Linked DNA regions of Homo sapiens: all the other regions are linked to region 6. The links are contacts of gene promoters, found by promoter capture Hi-C in blood cells and fetal thymus (Javierre and others, 2016). All regions are on one chromosome and are shown on one strand. The core of a region is centred on a gene start or on the middle of the fragment in contact, and the rest is flanking DNA. Distances in the headings are between cores, read along the strand shown.

Region 1 (3,166 bases), core at 337-2,836, 1.5 Mb before region 6:
ACAACTATTGAAATAAAAATTAAAAAACAACAAAAAAAGTCAAAAAATAACAGATGCTGGTGATGTGGAGAAAAAGGAACGCTTATACATTGTTGGTGGGAGTGTAAATTAGTTCAACCATTGTGGAAGACAGTGTGGCAATTTCCCAAAGACCTAAAAACAGAAACAACATTTGACCCAGCAATCCCATTACTGGGTATATACCTAAAGCAATAAAAATTGTTCTATTATAAAGACACATATACGTATGTTCACTGCACCACTATTCACAATAGCAAACACATGGAATCAACCTAAATGCCCATAAATGGTAGACTGGATAAAGAAAATGTGGTACATTTACACCATGGAATACTATACAACCATAAAAAGAATGAGATCATGTCCTTTACAGGAACATGGATAAAGCTGGAGGATATTATCCTCAGCAAAAAAATGCAGGGATAGAAAACCAAATACTGCATTTTCTCCCTTATATGTGGAAGCTAAATTATGAAAACACATGGACACATAAAGGGGAACAACACACTGGGGCCTACTAGAGGGAGGAGAGTGGGAGGAGGGAGAGGATTAAGAAAAATAACTAATGGGCACTAGGCTTAACACCTGGGTGACTAAATCAATTGTACAACAAATTACCCTGAAACAAGATTACCTATGTATCAAACCTGTACATCTATCCCTGAACTTAAAGCAAAAATTTAAAAAATCCAAACTATTAAGAACCCTGGCTTCTTAGTTAATGAAATGTGCTAACCTGCTATCTTAGGATGTTACACTTCTCTCTCAGTGTAACCTTCTTTGGCAAATTATTGTCTAGTCATTATTTAGACTCTGATTCTATCCACACATCCCCAATTTAGTGATTACATATTTATATATGTTATTATTTAATGGCCCTGTTTTCCACTAAATTATATGTACCCTGTGAACAGAAAACTTGTTTTATGGTTAGGTAGTTTTTCAAATTTTTCCATAGGACCTGAACTAGAACTGAGTCAGGTTTCAATAAATGTCTCTTTCATACACATGTCTGTCTTTTCCTTTCCTCAGAGAAACAGCAAACTATGGGGAAGGAACCTGTAAAAGACTTCTAAGTACAAATGACAAAGTCTCTCCCATTTCGGTAGAAATCTATTGTAAATTCCTTTATTTTTAATTCTCCACAGCCAATAATCACTTGCAAAACAACAAAAAAGGTTTATTTTTCAATTATTTATGTAGTGTAACAAATCACTCCAAAATTTATTGGCTTAAAATAACCATCATTTTGTTACTCTGAAGATTCTGTGTGTTGACTCAGTTGAAGTAAGCAGTTCTCCAACTGACAGTGGCTGAAGCATCAGTTAGTTCACTCCTCCAGTGAACTGCTGGAAGGTTAGGTTCAGCTGGAATGCTGAGATGAACCAGTCTTTCTTTCCATACTGTCTCAGGACCTCTCTATGTTGACCTGTCCTCTCCATGTCATCTATCCATGTGTGTCTGAAATAGGGTAGCCAGACTTTCTACATGCTTAAGGGCTCCCAAAGCATAAAAGCAGAACCTGTCCAAACTTCCTAAGGCTTAGGTTCAACTGAAGCGTCTCCTCAGCCACATTCTACTGGTTACGACAAGTTCATTTTATTTTTCAAGCACCCTATAAACTAAGTACAGAAAAAGGAAATGAAATGTAAGTTGTTCTGAGATTGGTGATCTCAAGTAAATTATGTATGCTGTGCCTCAGTTTCCTTATCTGTAAAAAGAAGATAATAATAACAGCCCATAGAATTTTTATGAGGACGAAATAAGTCAACCTAAAGGGTTTAGAACAGTGTTTGGCACTTAATGATATGGTTGGGCTGTGTCCCCACCCAAATCTCATCTTAATTGTAGCTCCCATAATTTCCACTTGCTGTGGGAGAGACCCAGTGGGAGATAATTGAATGATGGTGGCAGTTTTCTCCATACCGTTCTTGTGGTAGTGAATAAGTCTCATGAGAGCTGATGGTTTTATAAGGGGAAACCCCTTTTTCTTTGTTCTCATTCTCTCTTGTCTGCTGCCATGTAAGATGTGACTTCCACCTTCTACCACGATTCTGAGGCCTCCCCAGCCACATGGAACTGTGAGTCCACTGAGCCTCTTTTTCTTTATAAATTACCCGGTGTTGAGTGTGTCTTTATCAGCAGCATGAAAACAGACTAATACAGTAAGCACTACAAAATTAATTGAATGCCTAGTTCCATTAACAATTCAAGATAAAATATATGCTTCAAAAAGTGTATCAAGGGACCTGCAGTTTCCAGTATGGCATGTAAGGAGCTTGGAGTAGTCACTCCATCCTAACAACACATTAGAAAGCTGAACAAACTAAAAATCAACAACTTTTCTTAGCTACACAAAGTAAGGTCATAGGGTAAACTGCTGACCACAAAATTGGAGCAACAGACAGGCAGTACAGAAACTCATCAGGAACAGACACACAGATGTCAGGGATGTTGGAAATATCAGACTGGGAATTGAAAACAACTAGGATTAATATGCTAATGGCTCTAATAGAAAAAGTAGGCAACATACAAGAACAAATGGATAATGTAGGTAGAGAGATAGATATTCTAAGAAAGAATAAAAAAGAAATGGTAGAGACCAAAAACATTATAACAGAAATGAAGAATACCTTTGAAGGGCTCATTAGTAGATGGGACATGACTGATAAAAGAATCTCTGACTTTGAGGATATGTCAACAAAAACATTCAAAACTAAAAACCAAAGAGAAAAAAAAAGACTGAAAAAAAACATAACATTCCAGAAGTGTGGGACTTCTAAATGTGTAACATACGTGTAATAAAAATGCCAAAAAAGGAAAAATAGAAAGGAATAAAAGCAGTATTTAAAACAATAATGAATGACAATTTACTCTAACATCGGACACTAAGCCACAGATTCAAGAAACAGAGAACATCATGTAGGATAAATGTAAGAAAATAAAAAAAAAACAACCTCACACCTAGATAATTAATATACAAACTTCAGAAAATCAAAGGTAAAAAAAAAATCTTGGAAAAAGCCAAAGAATTTTTAAAAAATCTTACTTATAAAGGATCACAGATAATAACGACATTTGATTTATCAGAAACCATGCAGGCAGAAGATAGTGGAGTGAAATATTTGAAGTGTTAAGAGAAAAA
Region 2 (2,932 bases), core at 19-2,518, 1.9 Mb after region 6:
CCTTCCCTCCTTCACTCATTCCTGTCAAGTCTTCCTTCTCCACAATAAGCACTCTCAATTCCTTCAAAGGTTCTCATGGGTTACCCTCCTCTTGACATATCTATCTTTTCATTTACTTTTCTTAAAGTGTAGCTTTCAGAAATAAGGCCAACATTGTAAATGTGTCCTAACCAACATGGAATGAATATCATATCCCTTATTATGGACAAAATCCTATTACTGCAGCCTGGTACTTCATTTGTTTTTTCTTTTTTAAGCAACTCACCAGTTGGATGTCTGAGACTATATAAAACTAAACTCCTAATAATATACAATCAGTAAACCCTATTTTTTTTTTTTTGAGACGGAGTTTCGCTTTTGTTGCCCAGGCTGGAGTGCAATGGCGCGATCTTGGCTCACCGCAACCCTCCACCTCCCGGGTTCAAGCGATTCTCCTGCCTTAGCCTCCTGAGTAGCTGGGATTACAGGTGCGTGCCACCACGCCTGGCTAATTTTTGCATTTTTAGTAGAGACGGGGTTTCATCATATTGGTCAGGCTGGTCTCGAATTCCTGACCTCAGGTGATCCGCCCGCCTCAGCCTCCCAAAATGTTGGGATTACAGGTGTGAGCCATGGCACCCGGCTAATAAACCCTACTTATTCTATCACCAAAATGTCTTGGAAAAAAAAAAAAACAAACTATCTACTCTTTCTGTTCTATTGTTATTGCTCCAGCTCAGGCCATCATCATTCTATTTAAACAACTGTAGTAGCCTAATTAATCTCTCATTCCAATTTACTCTTTATTTGCCCACAAATATATCTGTCTTAATAAACACTGTCCTGAATCTGATTTTTCAGTACCTTAAAGAAGAATGGGGAGGGAAAGAAAGGAGATGACTTTCTCCCCTCTTCAATTCCTAGAAAACTCTTATTCCTCAAAGGCCAATTCAATGATCCATCAGAATTAACTACTCTCTCCTTTGCTCCCATAATGCTTAATAATCCTATCATAAAATTACAATGTATAGTTTGATATATCTATATTCCCCATTCAATTATAGGCTCCTCGAAGGAATAGAGCAATACATTTTTTATTCTCTTAGTACATACAGTGCCTTAACATTAATTGAACAAAATTTTACTCATGTAATTTTTTCTATCTGAATTCCATATTTTTTTAATTCCACACTTTTAAGCAGCTCACACTATAGGTTTCTGCCTGTAGTTTCAGACAGAACTTACAAGTTGTTTTAGTTATCCTTGCCAGCTAAATTGTTCTGACATTTTATAAGCACAACTGTACATTTATTCAAAACATTAATGAAAATATTAAAAATGGACAACAAAAAGTACCTTTTTAGATACTTCTCTCAAAGTCTGACATTAATTCCTTCTAACAGTATTTAAGAAAGTTTATTTTACACTATTAATGAAATGTTCTTAATGCTGATGAGCTAAGCCTGTACTTCTCTGCCTCTTCTCCAAGGCATACCTAGGAAAACAATCTCCAAAACTACTGGTTTCCTTTTTAAAAATAAGACCTTATGCTGTTTCTAGTCTTCTGGCATACTTTTTGTTACAACAAATTAACAAAAGCTATCAATACCTCTCAGTTCCTTAATGTCTTTAAATGATCTAAAACCTGTGCTATCAGCCAGACAGAAAATGGATTCCTGGAATCCAATCAAGTGGTGAAATAATCTGGGTGAGGTTTACAAAACTTGATCTGGCAATAGAGTTAAAAAGCAATTACAAAACAATTACAAAAGGTCTTAAACTTCAATTCAGAAGAAACCAACATCAACTTAGAGTTCCACTGTTACCATACAGACAATTTTTACTGACAGTTCATTATGTCCATCTGTGACATGAGAAAAACCACCTAGACAAAGACAGCTTCCAAGGCCAATGTCAAGCTGATAAACAGCCTGTCAAGAGATGGTAACTGAACTGTGGACATAAAGTATGTCACAGGAATCTCAACTTGCTGAAGACAGCAAAACTGTTCCCGAAGGTAAGTGACTGCCCAACGTCCATGATTAATTAGAATATTGAAATTACGTATATCAAACTCATGATACTAATACTGTGTGGTTTAAAACTATCCTAAATATTTTTAAGTTCCTATAGACAATGATAGTTTCTAAATTTAAAATAGTAACTGACTTCACGCTTATGATTTTAAGTTTAAAAGTGTATGAATATTTAGCTTGGTTAATAAGAATACTGGAATGTTTAAGAAAATTTGTGATTCACTGTCTCATTCATTAAATTTAAAATTTTTATATTTACCAATTATAACTCAATAAAGCTAGAGAAAATATAAAATTTTAAAGTTTTAAAGTATTTGGGAAGCCAGGTGTGGTGGCTCATACCTGTAATCCCAGCACTTTGGGAGGCCGAGGCGGGCGGATCACCTGACGTCAGAGTTCAAGACCAGCCTGGCCAACATGGCAAAACCCAGTCTCCACTAAGATAAAAAAATCAGCCAGGCGTGGTGGCACACGCCTGTAATCTCCGCTACTCAAGAGGCTGAGGCAGGAGAATCGCTTGAACCCAGAAGGCGGAGGGTGCCGTGAGCCGAGATTGCGCCAGTACACTCCAGCCTGGGAGAGACAGCGAGACTCCATCTCAAAAATAAATAAAGTATTTGGGAAAATCCTACTTGTTGAAATTTACTCCACAAGGAATAGTGCTTAAAACTAAAACAGTATATCAAACGTATATACGGAATGTAATTAAGTTAAGCAGCAGTAGCAGTGGTAATAGCTAATATTCACACTGCAATGTTCCTAGGGCTCACAACCTTGTTCCAACACTTTACAGTATAAATTCATGCATTCTGGCACGTTGGCTTATGCCTGTAATCCCAGCACTTTGGGAGGCCAAGGCAGACAGATCACTTGAGGTCAGGAGTTTTAAGACTAGCCTGTTCACCAACACAGTGAAA
Region 3 (2,939 bases), core at 227-2,726, 1.8 Mb after region 6:
ACATTAAGCCGCCTCCCAAGCTCGCCCTCTGCTGGTGAACAAGGGTCATTTTTTTCCTAAACCCTCACCCAGCCTTTCTTGCTGCACAAATGCTCTTTTTTTTTTTCCTTCCAATTAATACAGACAGAAAAGTCGCATGACCTATTCCAGAGGTTTATTGCACTGTTGTCGATTTTGGAGAATGTTTCCACTCTGTTCCTTAAAGTACACCCCTCAGAGGAGGTAGATAAATGTTTGACCAACACTGTCTGGCAACTCACGATATTACGAGTTCTCCGTGTTGCCTAAACATCCTCTTCTTGACTGAACTTTGTTCTCATCCCACCCCACACACTTTCTACAGTGGTGGCAAGCCTTCATTTACTCACAGCTCGAATGTGGCAAGGTCAGGGGGAGTAATGGTTTCCTCTGATCCAGGGTTGGAGGAGGATGCAAAGTAAGCATGTCCCAGAGACAAAAGAACATTTAAGAGAAGGATATGGAGATGGGGAGACTCATAACACAGATCATACCACCATCACTCATTCATTAAAACATTTCTTCATCACCTACTGTGTGCAAGACTTGGGACTAGGAGCAGAGAATTCTTAATCCCTGCACACGGGGAACCTAAGCCTCATAGAGGAAATAAGCGTAACAGTGAATCGTTAGTGAGTGTCTGCTGTATGCCAAGGAGCATACGTATGTTACCTTATTTAATTTTATTTCATCCTCACAGCAATCCTATGATCATCCTCATTGTATGAATGAGAAGACTCAGATGCAGAGAAGTTGAGTCAGACTTCTAGTTAATGAGGAAGTCAGTTTAAATGAACAATATGTAAGTCTGGCACAGTGGCATGTGTGTGTAGCCCCAGCTACTCCGGAAGCTGAGGCAAGAGGATCACTTGAGTTCAGGAGTTCAAGACTGTATAGTGCACTATAATTATGCCATGAATAGCCATTGCACTCCAGCCTGGGCATCAGAGCGAGACCCCATCTCTTACAAAAGAAAAGAAAATAAAAACTTTAAAGAACAATTTGTTATTATCTCTCGTGGTTCTGGAAGTTATGGGGCTCAGCGGGCTGGTTCTCACTTGGGGTTCCTTATGCAATTGCACTCAGACAGTGGCTGGGGCTGAGATCCATGTCTGGAGCCAGGGCTGGGATATCTAAAACAGTTGGGGGCTGGTAGGGCATCTCCGTCCACATGGCCTCTCCACATGGCTAACTTGGGCTTCCTCTCAGCCTGGCAGTCTCAGGATAGTTGGACATCTTAGATGGCAGCGGACTCCCCACTGCAGCAAGTGTTCCACAAAACCAGACAGAAACTGCAAACTTTCTTGTGACCTAGACTCTAAAAGCATGGACATTATTTCCGCTACAGTCTGTTGGTCAAAATAGTTACAGGTCAGATTCAAGGTGTTTCTGTGTCTCAGTGGGAGAGTAGCTTACAAGTAAAGTGAGATAACGAATTGATGAAGCCCATCCTGGAGACAAGTCATGACACCAGGGTTTGACCCTAAGCAGCCTGATTCCAGCCTCTGTGTGCTAAAGCATTATGCCCCACTCACCTGACACAGTACAGGCACAGCCACAGAATGCCACCTGTGGCTGTTATATCACGGTGGCTTGAAGGAGAAGTGATTAGCTGTGCCTCAGGTGGTCAGGAAAGGCTTCACATTAGAGGAAACACCCCCTCACACATACATACTCCTTTCTTCTCAGTGCAGAAGAAGACAGACAGTGGCTGCAGTGGGTGGCATATACTCGTCTGCATCACGTGAGGTGGCCTAAAAGCTGAGGGCAAGAGACAGCTCTGAGGCAGTGTGTAGAAGGGAACTGACCTGGAAGGGGGGAGCTATGGAGTCCAGTCCCAGCTGCACCATAGTGTAATGCTGGGACCTTGAAGGGAACCAGAAGGCCAAGAAAGGAAAAACCAGAGGCCCTGGGCCTTTCCAGAACATCAGCAGGGTGAGGTTTCTGACTGTGTTGTGCTCCACTCCCATCTCCAGATTGGAGACCCACAGTTGGTGATCTGTATGGACTGCTCGGCAGACACCATGACCAACCGCCTTCTCCAAAGGAGCCGGAGCAGCCTGCCTGTGGACGACACCACCAAGACCATCGCCAAGCGCCTAGAAGCCTACTACCGAGCGTCCATCCCCGTGATCGCCTACTACGAGACAAAAACACAGCTACACAAGGCGAGTCACTTCACTTTCTCCTCTGAAATGAGCCGCTTACCTTTTTTTTTTTTTTCCAAGAAAAGAGAAAAAGCTGAGAACATTTTAGTTAAGGGATCTGGGAATTAGAACTCTGTGCAGCTGCAGCACTGGGGCCAAAAGGCCCAGCACAGTGGCTTATGCCTGTAATCCCAACACTGTGGGAAGTCAAGGCGGGTGTATTGCTTGAGCCCAGGAGTTCAAGACCAGCCTAAGCAACATAGTGAGACCCCTGCCTCTGCAAAAAATTAGCTGGGTATGGTGGCACATGCCTATAATCCCAGCTACTCAAGAGGCTGACGTGGGAGGATTGCTTGAGCCCCAGAGGTGGAGGCTGTAGTGAGCTGAGATTGTGCCACTACACTCCAGCCTGGGCAACAGAGCAAGACCCTGTCTCAAAGAAAACAACAACAAGAATTTGGACCAAATTATGAATCCCTTACTCTTCACTTCTATTTCAATCAAAATTAAATATCTGTCGTCATATAGACCATAAAAAGGTGGTCATATAATTTTCACAGATCCCCTTATAGTTGCTGAAAACAACTCCTTTTTCCCAAAAAAGAGAGAGAGGGAGAGAGGAAGGGAAGAAGGCAGGGAGGGAGGGAGGCATAGATGAGACGTAGGCTCTGCCACTGACTCTGGACTGTGAGATTATTCACTAGAGCTAAGATTCAATGACTTTGAATTTCTATAATTTTACATCGTTCACAATTGGCTCTTGGCTCCTTTGCC
Region 4 (3,310 bases), core at 730-3,229, 1.5 Mb after region 6:
GAAATATTGCTGAATTGTTTTTCTCAGCAAGGAACAGCCCTGAGAAAGAGAATGCATTCCTAGGGAGAGGTCTCTAAAATGGCCACTCTGGGAATGTCTGTCTTATACGGTTGCAGATAAGGGATGAAATAAGCCCAGTCTCCTGTAGCGCTCCCAGGCCTATTAGGATTAGGAAATTCCTGCCTAGTAAATTTAGGCAGACTGGTTGTCTGCTCTCAAACCCTGCCTCCTGATAAGATGTTATCAATGATAATGCGTGCCCAGTGGGACATGAAACTTCATCAGCAATTCTAATTTCACCCTGGTCCTGTGATCTCACTCTGCCCCCATTTGCCATGTGATATTTTATTGCCCTTGAAGCATGTGATCTCTGTGACCCACACCCTATTCGTACACCCCTTCCCTTTTGAAATCCATAATAAAAACTTGCTGGTTTTGCGGCTCAGGGGGAATCATAGAACCTGCCGACATGTGATGTCTCCCCTGGACATCCAGCTTTAAAATTTCTCCCTTTTGTACTCTTTCCCTTTATTTCTCAGACCGGCCGACACTTAGGAAAAATAGAAAAGAACCTACGTTGAAATATCAGGGGCTGATTCCCCTGATATTCTAACACTAGACTAACAAAATTTAGGGGATATAAATATTTTACTTTTAAAATACAAACTGTGTTTGCTTTGCACAACTGATAAAATATTTCCAAATCATACATTTATTTATTTACCCAATACTAGCTGAGCAGAATCTTTTCTATTGATTTCTATTTATTAAATAACAAATGGCTTAAATCACCAACTGTTTAAATCCTTAATTACCCCACTACAAAGACTTCATAAACACAGTTATAGATAAGCAATTATTTGAAACAGAAATAAGCTTTTAAATAACATTCTTCAGAAACCTAAGGACAAACCTACTAAACATAATATACAAAATACATCCTATTGCTATTGTCTATTCCTAAAAACTCCTTCCAAATCTAACTTAAATCATTTAAATATATCTTAATGATTGACTCATAGAAGAAAGATTAATTTACCAAAGAAAAACTATTGCCAAGCCATGCATAGTGATTCTCTAGAAGAGTATATCCAGTATAGACGCAAGAGCCGTTAAAGACCAAAAGCTAACTACATAGGCCTATTTGAGAAAAACCAATTGACAAATGACAAGAATTATATCTATACACTTGATATAACAAATCAACCTCCTTCTCAGACTTAATGTAATTTTAAAATAGTAATATTATCTAGTTGCCATGATTTCCAGATGAAATATGGAAATTATAGTTTTGTCAGTTACTCAGACTGAAATGATCTATTCACAAAGACTGTAATATAACTTTGTTTCCTCAGTCATTCACTGCTTCCTTTCTGTTCCTGCAGCACTTTATGCATAACTCTTATTTGTTTTTACTGGAAGTACTTGAATCCTGAAAGAAGGTACTATTATTACCATGTAACAAATGAGAAACAAGCTTATTATGGTAAAGTGACTTAAAGAAAAATCACCATTAAAGCCAGATTTCAAAGTCATATCTAACTACAAGGCTCTTTCCACACTGACTCACTGGTACTAAATAAATCAAACCTAAATAACTGAATTGACTACAGTTTCTTGCTATAGCTGCTTTGGTAGTAGGAAAAACAAATCTATCATGGACAAAACAATGTAGAAGACATGCTCTGAGTGAAGGTGTGGGGATACCGCCTATTACCTAAACTCACTCCCTACAAGTAGGAAAATTCCCACTTTACGAGTCTTCATATAAAGCAAAGCCCACCTTCCTATATAGAGGCTAATAATGCCATATACTAGCTCTTCCAGTCACCCTGCAGCACAGACATGGGTGCTGAACCTAGACTTTACCAATATAACATTCCCACCAAGACCTCTATAAGAGAGACAGTAAGAAGTTGGGACAGCAAAGTTCAAATTTTGGCAGCAGGAGGCAATAGCAACATTAAGTTTCAAAAGGAAACAAACAGTAGCAGCTATGCAGTAGCTGAGTCTAGGCTTCAGCAATTTGCAGCTCCATTATTGTCACCAGACTGTTTTAGGTCATTTTTTTGCTATGTCTCTTCTAATATCTAGGCTTCCTTGTTCCTGGCTATTAAAGGATACAACCTTCTCACTAATTTGGCAAGGTAATCAATATGCTTTCAATAAATCCCTTTTCCACTTGAATCAATCAGAATTGCACTCCATTATCTGCAATTAAAAACCCTGACTGAGCCATTTACTAATTAAATACATTACACTAAATAATTATATTTTATCCAATCTTTTTACCTTAGCATTTGTTCTTTTATATAATTTGTCATTATGGTCTTAAGTAACATCTAATTTATACATGGTAGTATGCTCTAATGAGAACAAAAAATCTTCAAATCAGATTTTTTTTTTTACCTTTTTCAAAAGTAACACAAAATACAAATATAATAACAATTATCTAAGGGTTATTTTCACTGAAGTTCAAGGTTAAGCTTTATTAAGGCTTCTTACCTGTCAGGAATACCTAGCCTCTTGACACTTCTATAAACAGAAAGGGTATTTGCAACATGTCGATAATTAAACCAGAATCGGGATGTACACACCTGAAGTATTAAAACAAAAACAGAATTTTTATGCATCAAGGCTAACCATGGAGCTGCAGAGTATTTTTCTTTAAGTAGGATACAGAGATCTCTAAGAAACAGTATGCCATAATTCAGGCTTTAAAACAGCAAACACAAAAAATTGTCAGTAAAGGCCAGGCACAGTGGCTCATGCCTGTAATACCAACACTTTGGGAAGCCCAGGCGGGAAGATCACTTGGGTCCAGGAGTTCGAGACCAGCCTGGCCAACATGGCAAAACCCCACCTCTACTAAAAATACAAAAATTACCCAGGTGTGGTGGCGTGCACCTGTAGTTGCAGCTACTTGGGAGGCTGAGGCATGAGAATCGCTTAAACCTGGGAGGTGGAGGTTGCAGGGAGTGGAGATGGCACCACTGCACTCCAGCCTTGTCGACAGAGCAAGACTCTGTCTCAACAAAAAAAGAATTGTCAGTAAAACTAATCGCTCCAAAGAGAAGTCTTTCATAACTAGTATTAGATTTTAAAAAACCATTCAGCTTAAGAGAAAGCATATCTTTGGGAAATTAAATCAAATACTGAACCAACTTAGTTATCACAATTTCTGTGACTCAGTAACATTCCTATTTCTAAAAAATTAAATTCTTTAGAATCAAAGACAATGCCCATAATTTCTTCACAGAATAGAGAAGAAAATTAGCTACATAGGGTTATACAATATTTGTTTCATTCC
Region 5 (2,986 bases), core at 401-2,900, 1.4 Mb after region 6:
TGACATCGCTTGTTATTTTATACTCTAAAATGTATACTATGAAAACAAACAAATTGAATTTTCTACTATGCCAATTAAAAAGAGAATGATAGACTATATAAAATAGCAGATATAATATCTTTAATAGGGTTTCTAATATTCAATTACAGAAACCTATATTTATGCTCTTCCACTGGCTCCATTATTATATCAGAAATGAGTTTCCATTCACAAAATGTTTCAAATACCAGGCAAACATTTTTGATGAGAAAGAAGCTGAAGACATTAGCTAGTCCCACATTTTTACTACAAGAGGTGGAGCAGAAGATTGTGCTATTTGTATGCAATCTAGAGGCAGGTTGCCTGGATTCAAATGGTAACTATGCCATGTTAGTTTAGGAAAATAATTTAATATTTCTATGCTTCAGTTTCCTCAGCCATAAAGTGAGAAATGTATCTGCAACACTATCATTAGCTTACTTATACAGTTGCTTTGCACAGGTTTTTAAAAGGTACTTTCAACTGGGCATGAAAGTAGAAAAAAAAAACTAGTCTCCTCACCTTCCTCTTGGATACATGCAGCCCTGCAGGCTTACAAGTGGTTAGTTGACTATGCCTTTGTGGGAGAAAAAAGTATCCCTCCCTTCCATTAGAATACAACCCTGTGGTAGGGCAGATCGCTTAGTAAGTGTAAGCACATACGAGATTTCAGTTCCCACTTAACACCCTGGCCAGATTCTTGGGTGCACTATACAACCCACACAACCACATACAGCAACCTTGAATATCGGCACCTAAGTCAATGCACTGCTGTGAGAATGAAATGAGTTAATAGCCACAATGATTTAGAATACTGCCTGACGTATACTATGCCTCCATAAATATTATTATCATATTATCATAATTATCAACGTTTTTATTCTCTTACAGACCCTGGCAACCTTCTACAAAAGATCAGGTAGTAAATATTTTTGGCTTGTGAGCCATATTGTCTCTAGCACAACTACTGAACTCTGCTGTGGTAGTATGGAAGCAGTCACAGAAACTGTGTAAACCAAATGGATGCAACTGTGTTTCAATAAAACTTCCAAAACAGGCAGCCAGTTCACAGGCCATAGTTTATCAAATCCTATCTTCAACTACTGGAATTTGTTCCAAGCCTGCAGTTACCCTGAAAGAGTTCCAACAGAATCAGGAAACAAACAAAAAATAATAATAATAAATCCTTTAGTTTAGTACATCAAATAAAGCTAAGCTACAAAAAACTGCACTTCATCTTGTTTGCCATAAAAGCTTGAAAATTCCTTGTAATTTTCAGATAAAGTAAAATAAAATTTTTCCTGGCTTCATTAACTCTATTGAGTTAATTTATAAAGTTTATAAATTAAGCCTTGAAAGTTATAAATAAATGCAACACGATAGAGAAAAGCCACTAAGTAGGGGTCATTAACTATGTTGACATGTGATATCTAAGAATCATTCTGCACCTGCTTTATCATCAGTTGAATGGAATGCCCTCCAAAAAATTTATAGAACATCTTTTGATTAACATCCATATTTACCGAATACTACTACAAGACAGGCAACTGGTGATAAAAAAAAAAAAAAGCAAGAAATATATAATCAATGACATCTTGGAATTCAAAATACAGTGAAGGCAACAGATACCCAAACAATAAAGTAATAGTAAGTTAAATGCTATGAAAGAAACTAAAAATTAACATGGGCATGCACAGAGGAAAGTCCAGACCAGCCAAGGAGAAGAGAAATATCTTTAGATAAGAAAAATGTAAGCTGTGTTATTCATACCAATTCTGAAGGAGAAAGCAGAAACTATTAATAATAACACTGGGACAACAGGTGTAAACTACAACTGTCCCAGGTAATTGGAAACATCAGTCACCCTAGACTTAGAAAGGAAGTCATGGAAGGGAGTGACTCCTGAGCTAAAACTAAAACCATATGGAATAATCAAGCAGGCAAAGTGGACTGAAAAGACGTCATAAGCAAATGCAAGAGCTTAAACAAATGTTTGAAGGACAGAACATTCAAGCTTGGAAGAGAATTAGAAAAAGTATTAAGAACTAAGACAAACTAAATAATATAGCTAAATCATTACATATATTATTATGTGTAATACATATGATAACTATATTATATTATGGTACACTTTATCTCCAATATTCCTCAAAGTATAATCAAAAGACTACTGTATCTCATATCTGAGGAGTATATCCACAATGCAATTTCATGAATCCCAACCCAGATGAAAATTAAGTAAGAATTCTAAAATAAGGCCTAAGTATCTACAGTTGGTAATCTTCATGTACAGCAAAATTTGAGATGGAAAACCATTATAAAGTTTTAAGCAGAAGAGGGACAGATTTGCAATTTCTATTAGACACTTTCACAGGATGATTAGCAGGAGAACAAAACTGAAGGATGCTGTAGCAGGATACCAAGCAAAAGGTGCTAAGTTTACCAAGTCAATAGTAAAAAAATATAGAGATAAGAAAATCAGGAACAGCACAAAATGTTATACTGTTTTCAGATATCATCTCAAATAGTTCTACATTATGGAAAATATAACTACATGAGAAACCATTTTAACCAAAAATCATTTCACGTGTTTAAATTTCTTTCCATTTGCCTTTCTTTTCAAAGAGTTTCAATATACTCTACTATAAAAACTCTAAATTATGAAATTACCTGTCATATAAATTAGAATATTGCTTCTGTCATCAGAAAGAAGACGTTTTGACCGAGGAGTACTAGGTGGGATCCTCCCAGTTAATACCCGTAAAAAATTCTCCACAGTTACCTAAGGGGGAAAAAACAAGAAAAATCAGATGAAATAAAACCTGGGAAATCTTGACAAATTACTTTTTACTTTCAAAAATGTTCATTGTTCTTTCTCCATATATTACTCAGCACCAACTGAAAATAAAACACCCAAAAATTATATAACTCAATTAAAATATATTCATTTAAACATATACCTCCAAGT
Region 6 (3,356 bases), core at 399-2,898:
CTCCTCTGTCTTTGCCTCTTTTGGAAAGTTCTAAGTTGCTAGCCAATCAGGACAAGTACAGAGGTCCCCTTCCAGCCAATGGAAACCGGACACGGTAGTAGGGTGCACGTGTCAGGTTATAAATGACCCTGTCTCCTTTATGCGTGTGTGCTCTCGTGGCAAGACTACTAGCGAGCGGCAACCTTTCTGCAGAAAGTAAACTAGCCTTGCTAAGAGCTCCTTTGTCTCAGTGTTGATTTTTGCAACACTGAGCGCCCGTTCCCAACATCAGTAAGGCTTTTCTTTTTAATGAAAAGCAGCCCCAAATCCTTTTCTAAGAGCAGCCTGTGAAGTCGAGCTGCAGGCACAGACAAACAAGGGGGTAGCTTGCTTGGGTGAATGGTGGCAGGAACTACCGACTAGACATGTTTAAGATGAGGGCTCCATCTTCGCTTCTCTGCCAGCCACGTGTACAGTAAGAAGGGGTTACAATAGGCATATGGGTGATTTTGTGCTTTTCGTTCATCTTTTCTGTGTTTAAAATGTTCAGAATAAGAAATTGGAACAAAGGAGACATGAATAGACAATTCCTAATCATCTTTAAGAGTCCGCTTTGTGTTTTACTTACCACCACCACTTTGAAGGCTTTCTTGCCTATACCAGGACAAACTCAGCTCTTTATCCCTTTTCCGAATTTTCCTGGTACTTTCACTTTGAATATAGCGCTTAATTAACATTCTGCCTTGTACCTAGGACTAACACACTATAAATTCCCAGAAGACAAAGTAGGGGAATACAATAACAGGATATAGAATTTTAACAGCTAAATTAGATGAATTTATGGGTGACCTTTATTGGGCAAAAGAAAATGTTAAGTTAGTATAAGATTTAGTATAAGCTACCATCTCAAAACTCAGGGTCTCACTGGAAGAGAAAGTGACTCCAGGTAGAATTCCTCAGGGAGACATTCACTTCCATCATTCGCTGAACCAGGAGCTTTGGACAGCCTCGGATTGCACCCGCATATCCAAGGACACCACATCAGCGGACAAGTCATAAACAGCCTTGGGAATACGCGGAAAGGTCAAATTTACCTAAACAATTAAATTCTCTTTTAAATTTTAAGGAAACACAAGTATGCTTTCGCTTTAGGTAGGGCATTTGAGAGCAAAATGTACTAATACTTTGAATCCGCCAAGCAGACACGATCTGGGTTTGACCGTTCTCTCCGGGTAAAGGTGAAGGCTGACCACGGGGGCCGCTCTCCCTCCAGGCCCCAGCCACGCCCTCTAACCCAGGTTCCCGTCCTGCACCGCGCCGCAAGTCCCCCCACCGTTCAGCGCAACCGGGCCCTCCCAGCCCCGCCGCCGTCCCCCTCCCCCGCCCTGGCTCTCTTTCCGCGCTGCGGTCAGCCTCGGCGTCCCACAGAGAGGGCCAGAGGTGGAAACGCAGAAAACCAAACCAGGACTATCAGAGATTGCCCGGAGAGGGGATGCGACCCCTCCCCAGGTCGCAGCGACGGCGCACGCAAGGGTCACGGAGCATGCGTTGGCTACCCGGCGCCGGGGACCGCTGCCACCCCGCCTAGCGCAGCGCCCCGTCCTTCCGCAGCCCAACCGCCTCTTCCCGCCCCGCCCCATCCCGCCCACGGGCTCCAGTGGGCGGGACCAGAGGAGTCCCGCGTTCGGGGAGTATGTCAAGGCCGTGACCCGTGTATTATTGTCCGAGTGGCCGGAACGGGAGCCAACATGGCAGCGGGGTTCGGGCGATGCTGCAGGGTGAGAGGGAGCCCAGCGGTGCGGTGGGGCTGGAACATGGGTATTGTGGTGTCGGAGCAGGGGGCCCTGGGCCAAAAATAGGTGCGGCCGGGAGGAGTGGGAAGTCGGGCTGAGGAAGGAGCCAGCCTAGGGGCCCCCAACCTGCTTTCACGCCTCCTACCACCGGACGGAACGTAGCCTAGCGTTTCATTTTCCGTATCCTCCCGTCAGGCGACCCCGTTATAGCCGGCATCCTCTCTTTAGAATATCGTTTTTCTTTCTCTGGTAAACCCTCCAAATATTTACCGCGGGAATCCCACCTTTTTCCAAAGTGACCCCGTCTCTGTGTCAGAACCACGGGAAAAAGAAAAATGGAGCAGCTACTCCTTGAAATACTTAATGTTTAATAAGCTTTTCGTTGTAACGTTTCCACGTTGCTTACGGGAAAAAAAAAAGTAAAAAAAAAACCTGCAGAATTTTATGTGAACTTGTGTGTATATTCTAGTATTGGATCTTAATAGATTCTAAATAAGTTTGTCACTAGATGAATTTTGGTATCTTAAATATTCTTGATATGTTCACACCACTGCCATTTAGATGTCACTTAAAATTAAGTTAAAGTTATGTCTTGGACCAAAAAAGCTGCGGTTTTAGAATAATCCTAAAGAATTGCTGCCCATGTTTTGCTGGTGTTATGCAAGTTAATGTGCAGTGAAGGCAGAAATTGGGAGATTTCAGCTATTTTTAACTCCTACACCAGAAAAGCAGATTTCTCAACCTCCAAGGAAGGATCTAAAAAAAACCTGATATAGAAAACTTACACCCTTTTTCTCTTCTTTAACCCATAAAACTGACACTCTTATATTCCCAAGAAATGCACAAAAGTGTTCAATTCTAGTGGTGCTGTTTCGATATTTGGAATTTCATTGTTCTAGACAGAGAGCCCGAAGTAATAAAACCAATAGTTATATAGCATTAGGCTTTCAAAACATTATCGTACTTTAATCGTCCGAAAATACGCAGTGAGATTAGTCCCATTTTTTGGTTTTGAACGGAAGCTATAAGCAGTTTGTAAACCTGTCTACGGCCACAAATATGGTTGTGGAACCTAGATTCACATTCAGCAATTATAACTCCAGATCCCGTGCTGTTTCTGTTTTCTATTTGCAAACCACCTCTCTAATTAACTGGCTAACTTTGTTATGTAATTAACAGGTTGATGGGCATTGTATTCTGGTAATAGCAACCTTTGCACTTTGTTCTATGTAACATATTTTCCTGAACAGTCACATGTGAAGTGACTTTTTCCCTATTTAAATTCCCTCGGTTGGCCAGGTGCGGCGGCTCACGGTTGTGATCCTAGCACCTTGGGAGGCCTCGGCGGGTTGATCACTTAAGGCCAGGAGTTCGAGACCAGCCTGGCCAAAGCAGGGAAACCCTGTCTTTACTAAAAATAGGAAAAATTAGCTGGGCATGGTAGCATATGCCTGTAATCCCAGGAGGCTGAGTCTGCAGTGAGCGGAGATCTCTCCACCGCACTCTAGCCTGGGTGACAGAGGGAGACTCTGTCAAAAAAAAAAAAAAGTCCCTCAGTAGACCATTTAACCTGGTTTGAGTTCT
Region 7 (3,311 bases), core at 279-2,778, 1.5 Mb after region 6:
CTGAATTTTTACAAAAGGTAAGTTTGGTGATCCTAGCCCTTGCCTCTTCCTGTACATAAGATAATGTCTGACAAGATTAATGATTATGCCTCAAATTCATGACCAGATGTAACTTCATACCCACACTTTGATGAGACTTTACTTGTATTAACCCATTTTCATACTGCTATGAAGAAATACCCAAGACTGCATAATTTCTAAAGAAAAAGGCTTAGTGGACTCACAGTTCCACATGGCTGGGGAAGCCTCACAATCATGGTAGAAGATGAAGAAGGAGCAAAGGCACATCTTACATGGCAGCAGGTGAGAGAGCATGTGCAGAGGAACTACCCTTTATAAAACCATCAGAGGCCAGGTGCAGTGGCTCACACCTGTAATCCTAGCACTTTGGGAGGCCGAGGCAGGCAGATCATCTGAGGTCAGGCATTCAAGACCAGCCTGGCCAACATGGCAAAACCCCATGTTTCAAAATTAGCTCAGTGTGGGGGCACATGCCTGTAATACCAGCTACTAGGGAGGCTGAGGCAGGAGAATCGCTTGAACCTGGGAGGCAGAGGTTGCAGTGAGCCAAGATCACGCTACTGTACTCCAGCCTGGGCAACAGAGCCAGACTTTGTCTCAAAAAATAAAATGAAATAAAATAAAAATAAATAAATAGATAGATAAATAAAACCATCAGAGCTCGTGAGAACTCACTACCATGACAACATGAGGGTAACTGATCCCATAATTAAATTACTTCCCATCAGGTCCCTCCCTTGACACTTGGGGATTATGGGAGCTACAATTCAAGATGAGATTTGGGTTGGGACACAGCCAAACCATATCATTCCACCCTGGCCCCTCCAAAATCTCCTGTCCTCACATTTCAAAAGCAATCATGCCTTACCAGCAGTCCCCCAAAGTCTTAACTCATTTCAGCATTAACTCAAAAGTCTACAGTCCAAAGTCTCATCTGAGACAAGGCAAGTCCCTTCTGCCTATGAGCTTGTAAAATCATAAGCAAGTTAAGTTACTTCCTAAATACAATGGGGGTACAAGCATTGGGTAAATACACCCATTCCAAATGGGAGAAATAGGCCAAAATGAAGGGACTACAGGGCCCATGCAAGTCCAAAATCCAGCAGGGCAGTCAAATCTTAAAGCTCCAAAATGATCTGCTTTGACTCCGTGTCTCACATCCAGTTCACGTTGATACAAGAGGTAGGTTGCCATGGTCTTGGGCAGCTCTGCCCCTGTGGCTTTGCAAGATACAGCCTCCTTCCCAGCTGCTTTAACAGGCTGGCATTGAGTGTCTCTGGCTTTCCCAGGCATATGCTGCAAGCTGTTGGTGGATCTACCATCCTGGGGTCTGGAGGATGGTGGCCCTCTTCTCACAGCTCCACTAGGCACTGCCCCAGTGGGGACTCTGTGTGGGGGATCCCACCCCACATTTCCCTTCTGCATTGCCCTTCTGCCTTAGCAGAGGTCGTGCATGAGGGCCCTGCCCCTGCAGCACACCTCTGCCTGAACATCCGGGTGTTTCCATACATCCTCTGAAATCTAGGCAGGGTTCCCAAACCTCAATTCTTGACTTCCGTGCACCCACAGTCCCAATATCACATGTGAGCAGCCTGAGACTGCACAAAGCAGCAAGGCCCTGGGCCCAGCCCATAAACCCATTTTTCCTCCTTGGCCTCCTGGCTTGTGATGAGAGGGACTTCCAGGAAGACCTCTTACATGCCCTGGAGACATTTTTCCCATTGTCGTGGTAATTAACATGTGGCTTCTTGTTACTTATGCAAATTTCTGCAGCAGGCTTGAATTTCTCCGCAAAAAATGGGTTTTTCTTTTCTATCACGTCATCAGGCTGCAAGTTTTCCTTTTATGCTCTGCTTCCTCTTGAACGCTTTGCCACTTAGAAATTTCTTCCCTCAGGTACCCTAAATCATCTCTCTAAAGTTCAAAGTTCCACAGATAACTAGGGCAGGGGCAAAATGCCACCAGTCTCTTTGCTAAAGCATAGCAAGAGTGACCTTTATTCCATTTCCCAACAAGTTCCTCATCTCCATCTGAGACCACCTCAGCCTGGACTTCTTTGTCCGTATCCCTATTAGCCTTCTGATCAAAGCCATTCAACAAGTCTCTAGGAAGTTCCAAACTTTCCTACATCTTTCTGTCTTCTGAGCCCTCCAAGTCTCTAGGAAGTTCCAGAGTTTCCCACATTTTCCTGTCTTCTTCTGAGCCCTCCAAACTGTTCCAACCTCTGCCTGTTACCCTGTTCCAAAGTTGCTTCAACATTTTCTGTTAACCTTATAGCAGAGCCCCACTACCTCAGTTCCAATTTACTGTATTAGTCCATTTTCATACTACTGTGAAGAAATAGCCAAGACTGGGTAATTTATAAAGAAAAAGAGGTTCAGTGGACTCACAGTTCCACATGGCTGGGGAGGCCTCACAATCGTGACAGAAGGCAAAGGAGGAGCAAAGACACATCTTACCTGGCAGCAAGGCAAGAGAGAGAGCATGTGCGGAGGAACTGCCCTTTATGAAACCATCAGATTTCCTGAGATTTATTCACTATCATGAGACCAGCAGGGGAAAAACTTGCCCCCATGATTAAATTACTTCCCACCGGGTCCTACCATTGACACATGGGGATTATGGGAGCTACAATTCAAGATGAGATTTGAGTGGGGACACAGCCAAACCATGTCATTAATGTAATTTCTGAGCACATTTGATGTAACTTCTTAACACATGCAGAGCAACCACCACCTATGTTTAAGCTATGGGGTGAATCAATGCTTTGCAGCAATATAACAAACTCTTTGAAAGATTCTCCCAGGTTGCAGTACTCAGTAGGACTTCTGAATAAAATTAACTTTAATTATTTAAAAGCCTGTTTTTTTTTCTTTAGTTGACATAACATACCAGGATATTGTAGCTGGAAATACATAGGAGGTTCTTGCTCTCACGAACCTTACATTCCAGTAAGGAAAACAGACAATAAGAAAAAAGAAAAATGAATACAATAAATTCTCATGGTGATACAAATAAGGTAAGATGACAGAAACTGAAGGGAGAGGGAGACACTACTTCAGTGAGGTGGTCAGTGAAAACCTCTCTGCAAAGGTGGTGTGAAATCTGAGACCTGAATGACAAGAAAGAACTAGCGATGCAAACATCTGCGGGTGGCACATTTCTAATATTTATTTTTTACTAGTTTTATTTTGTGTTAATTTTACGTTTAACTATCTGGAATATATTTTGGTACAGGAGTCCCCCTTATCCAAGGGGGATATGTATCAAGCCCCCCAGTGGATACCTGA

The links. Contacts are between HindIII fragments. The CHiCAGO score rates a contact against its expected background, and 5 or more counts as called.
Region 1: a contact is called between a fragment that was not itself captured here and the fragment with the promoter of ACADM in region 6, in 1 of 17 cell types (M2 macrophages). The highest score is 6.7, in M2 macrophages.
Region 2: a contact is called between a fragment that was not itself captured here and the fragment with the promoter of ACADM in region 6, in 4 of 17 cell types (total CD4 T cells, total B cells, naive B cells and 1 more). The highest score is 6.9, in total CD4 T cells.
Region 3: a contact is called between a fragment that was not itself captured here and the fragment with the promoter of ACADM in region 6, in 1 of 17 cell types (activated CD4 T cells). The highest score is 5.6, in activated CD4 T cells.
Region 4: a fragment that was not itself captured here is called in contact with the fragment with the promoter of ACADM in region 6 in 3 of 17 cell types (fetal thymus, M0 macrophages and monocytes); the score reaches 5.8 in fetal thymus.
Region 5: a fragment that was not itself captured here is called in contact with the fragment with the promoter of ACADM in region 6 in 1 of 17 cell types (activated CD4 T cells); the score reaches 5.1 in activated CD4 T cells.
Region 7: a contact is called between a fragment that was not itself captured here and the fragment with the promoter of ACADM in region 6, in 3 of 17 cell types (fetal thymus, activated CD4 T cells and non-activated CD4 T cells). The highest score is 8.6, in fetal thymus.

Annotation. Positions count from the first base shown.
Region 1 is chr1:74,187,724-74,190,889 of GRCh38, forward strand. All of the region lies in intron 1 of LRRIQ3 (leucine rich repeats and IQ motif containing 3), which reads right to left. Among named protein-coding and RNA genes, the nearest start is that of LRRIQ3, 8.9 kb to the right of the region's middle. The HindIII fragment of the contact is 8,734 bases long and covers 1-3,166 here.
Region 2 is chr1:77,663,426-77,666,357 of GRCh38, forward strand. The region is part of intron 1 of ZZZ3 (zinc finger ZZ-type containing 3); the gene reads right to left. Among named protein-coding and RNA genes, the nearest start is that of ZZZ3, 18 kb to the right of the region's middle. The HindIII fragment of the contact is 7,724 bases long and covers 1-2,932 here.
Region 3 is chr1:77,533,853-77,536,791 of GRCh38, forward strand. AK5 (adenylate kinase 5) reads left to right here. Exons shown (of 14, transcript NM_174858.3): 13 at 1,995-2,186. Among named protein-coding and RNA genes, the nearest start is that of ZZZ3, 150 kb to the right of the region's middle. The HindIII fragment of the contact is 3,479 bases long and covers 1-2,939 here.
Region 4 is chr1:77,204,135-77,207,444 of GRCh38, forward strand. It overlaps PIGK (phosphatidylinositol glycan anchor biosynthesis class K), which reads right to left. Exons shown (of 11, transcript NM_005482.3): 3 at 2,506-2,597. Among named protein-coding and RNA genes, the nearest start is that of PIGK, 14 kb to the right of the region's middle. The HindIII fragment of the contact is 1,009 bases long and covers 1,476-2,484 here.
Region 5 is chr1:77,164,031-77,167,016 of GRCh38, forward strand. It overlaps PIGK (phosphatidylinositol glycan anchor biosynthesis class K), which reads right to left. Exons shown (of 11, transcript NM_005482.3): 5 at 2,689-2,800. Among named protein-coding and RNA genes, the nearest start is that of PIGK, 54 kb to the right of the region's middle. The HindIII fragment of the contact is 760 bases long and covers 1,271-2,030 here.
Region 6 is chr1:75,723,061-75,726,416 of GRCh38, forward strand. It overlaps ACADM (acyl-CoA dehydrogenase medium chain), which reads left to right and starts at 1,649. Exons shown (of 12, transcript NM_000016.6): 1 at 1,649-1,757. The coding sequence starts at 1,728. It also overlaps a transcript of SLC44A5 not described here. RefSeq lists enhancers at 1,035-1,124, 1,775-1,864 and silencers at 1,495-1,544, 1,595-1,644. The HindIII fragment of the contact is 3,396 bases long and covers 1-2,145 here.
Region 7 is chr1:77,220,977-77,224,287 of GRCh38, forward strand. It overlaps LOC105378808 (a long non-coding RNA gene), which reads left to right. Exons shown (of 3, transcript XR_001738109.2): 2 at 1-17. Among named protein-coding and RNA genes, the nearest start is that of PIGK, 3.2 kb to the left of the region's middle. The HindIII fragment of the contact is 4,293 bases long and covers 1-3,311 here.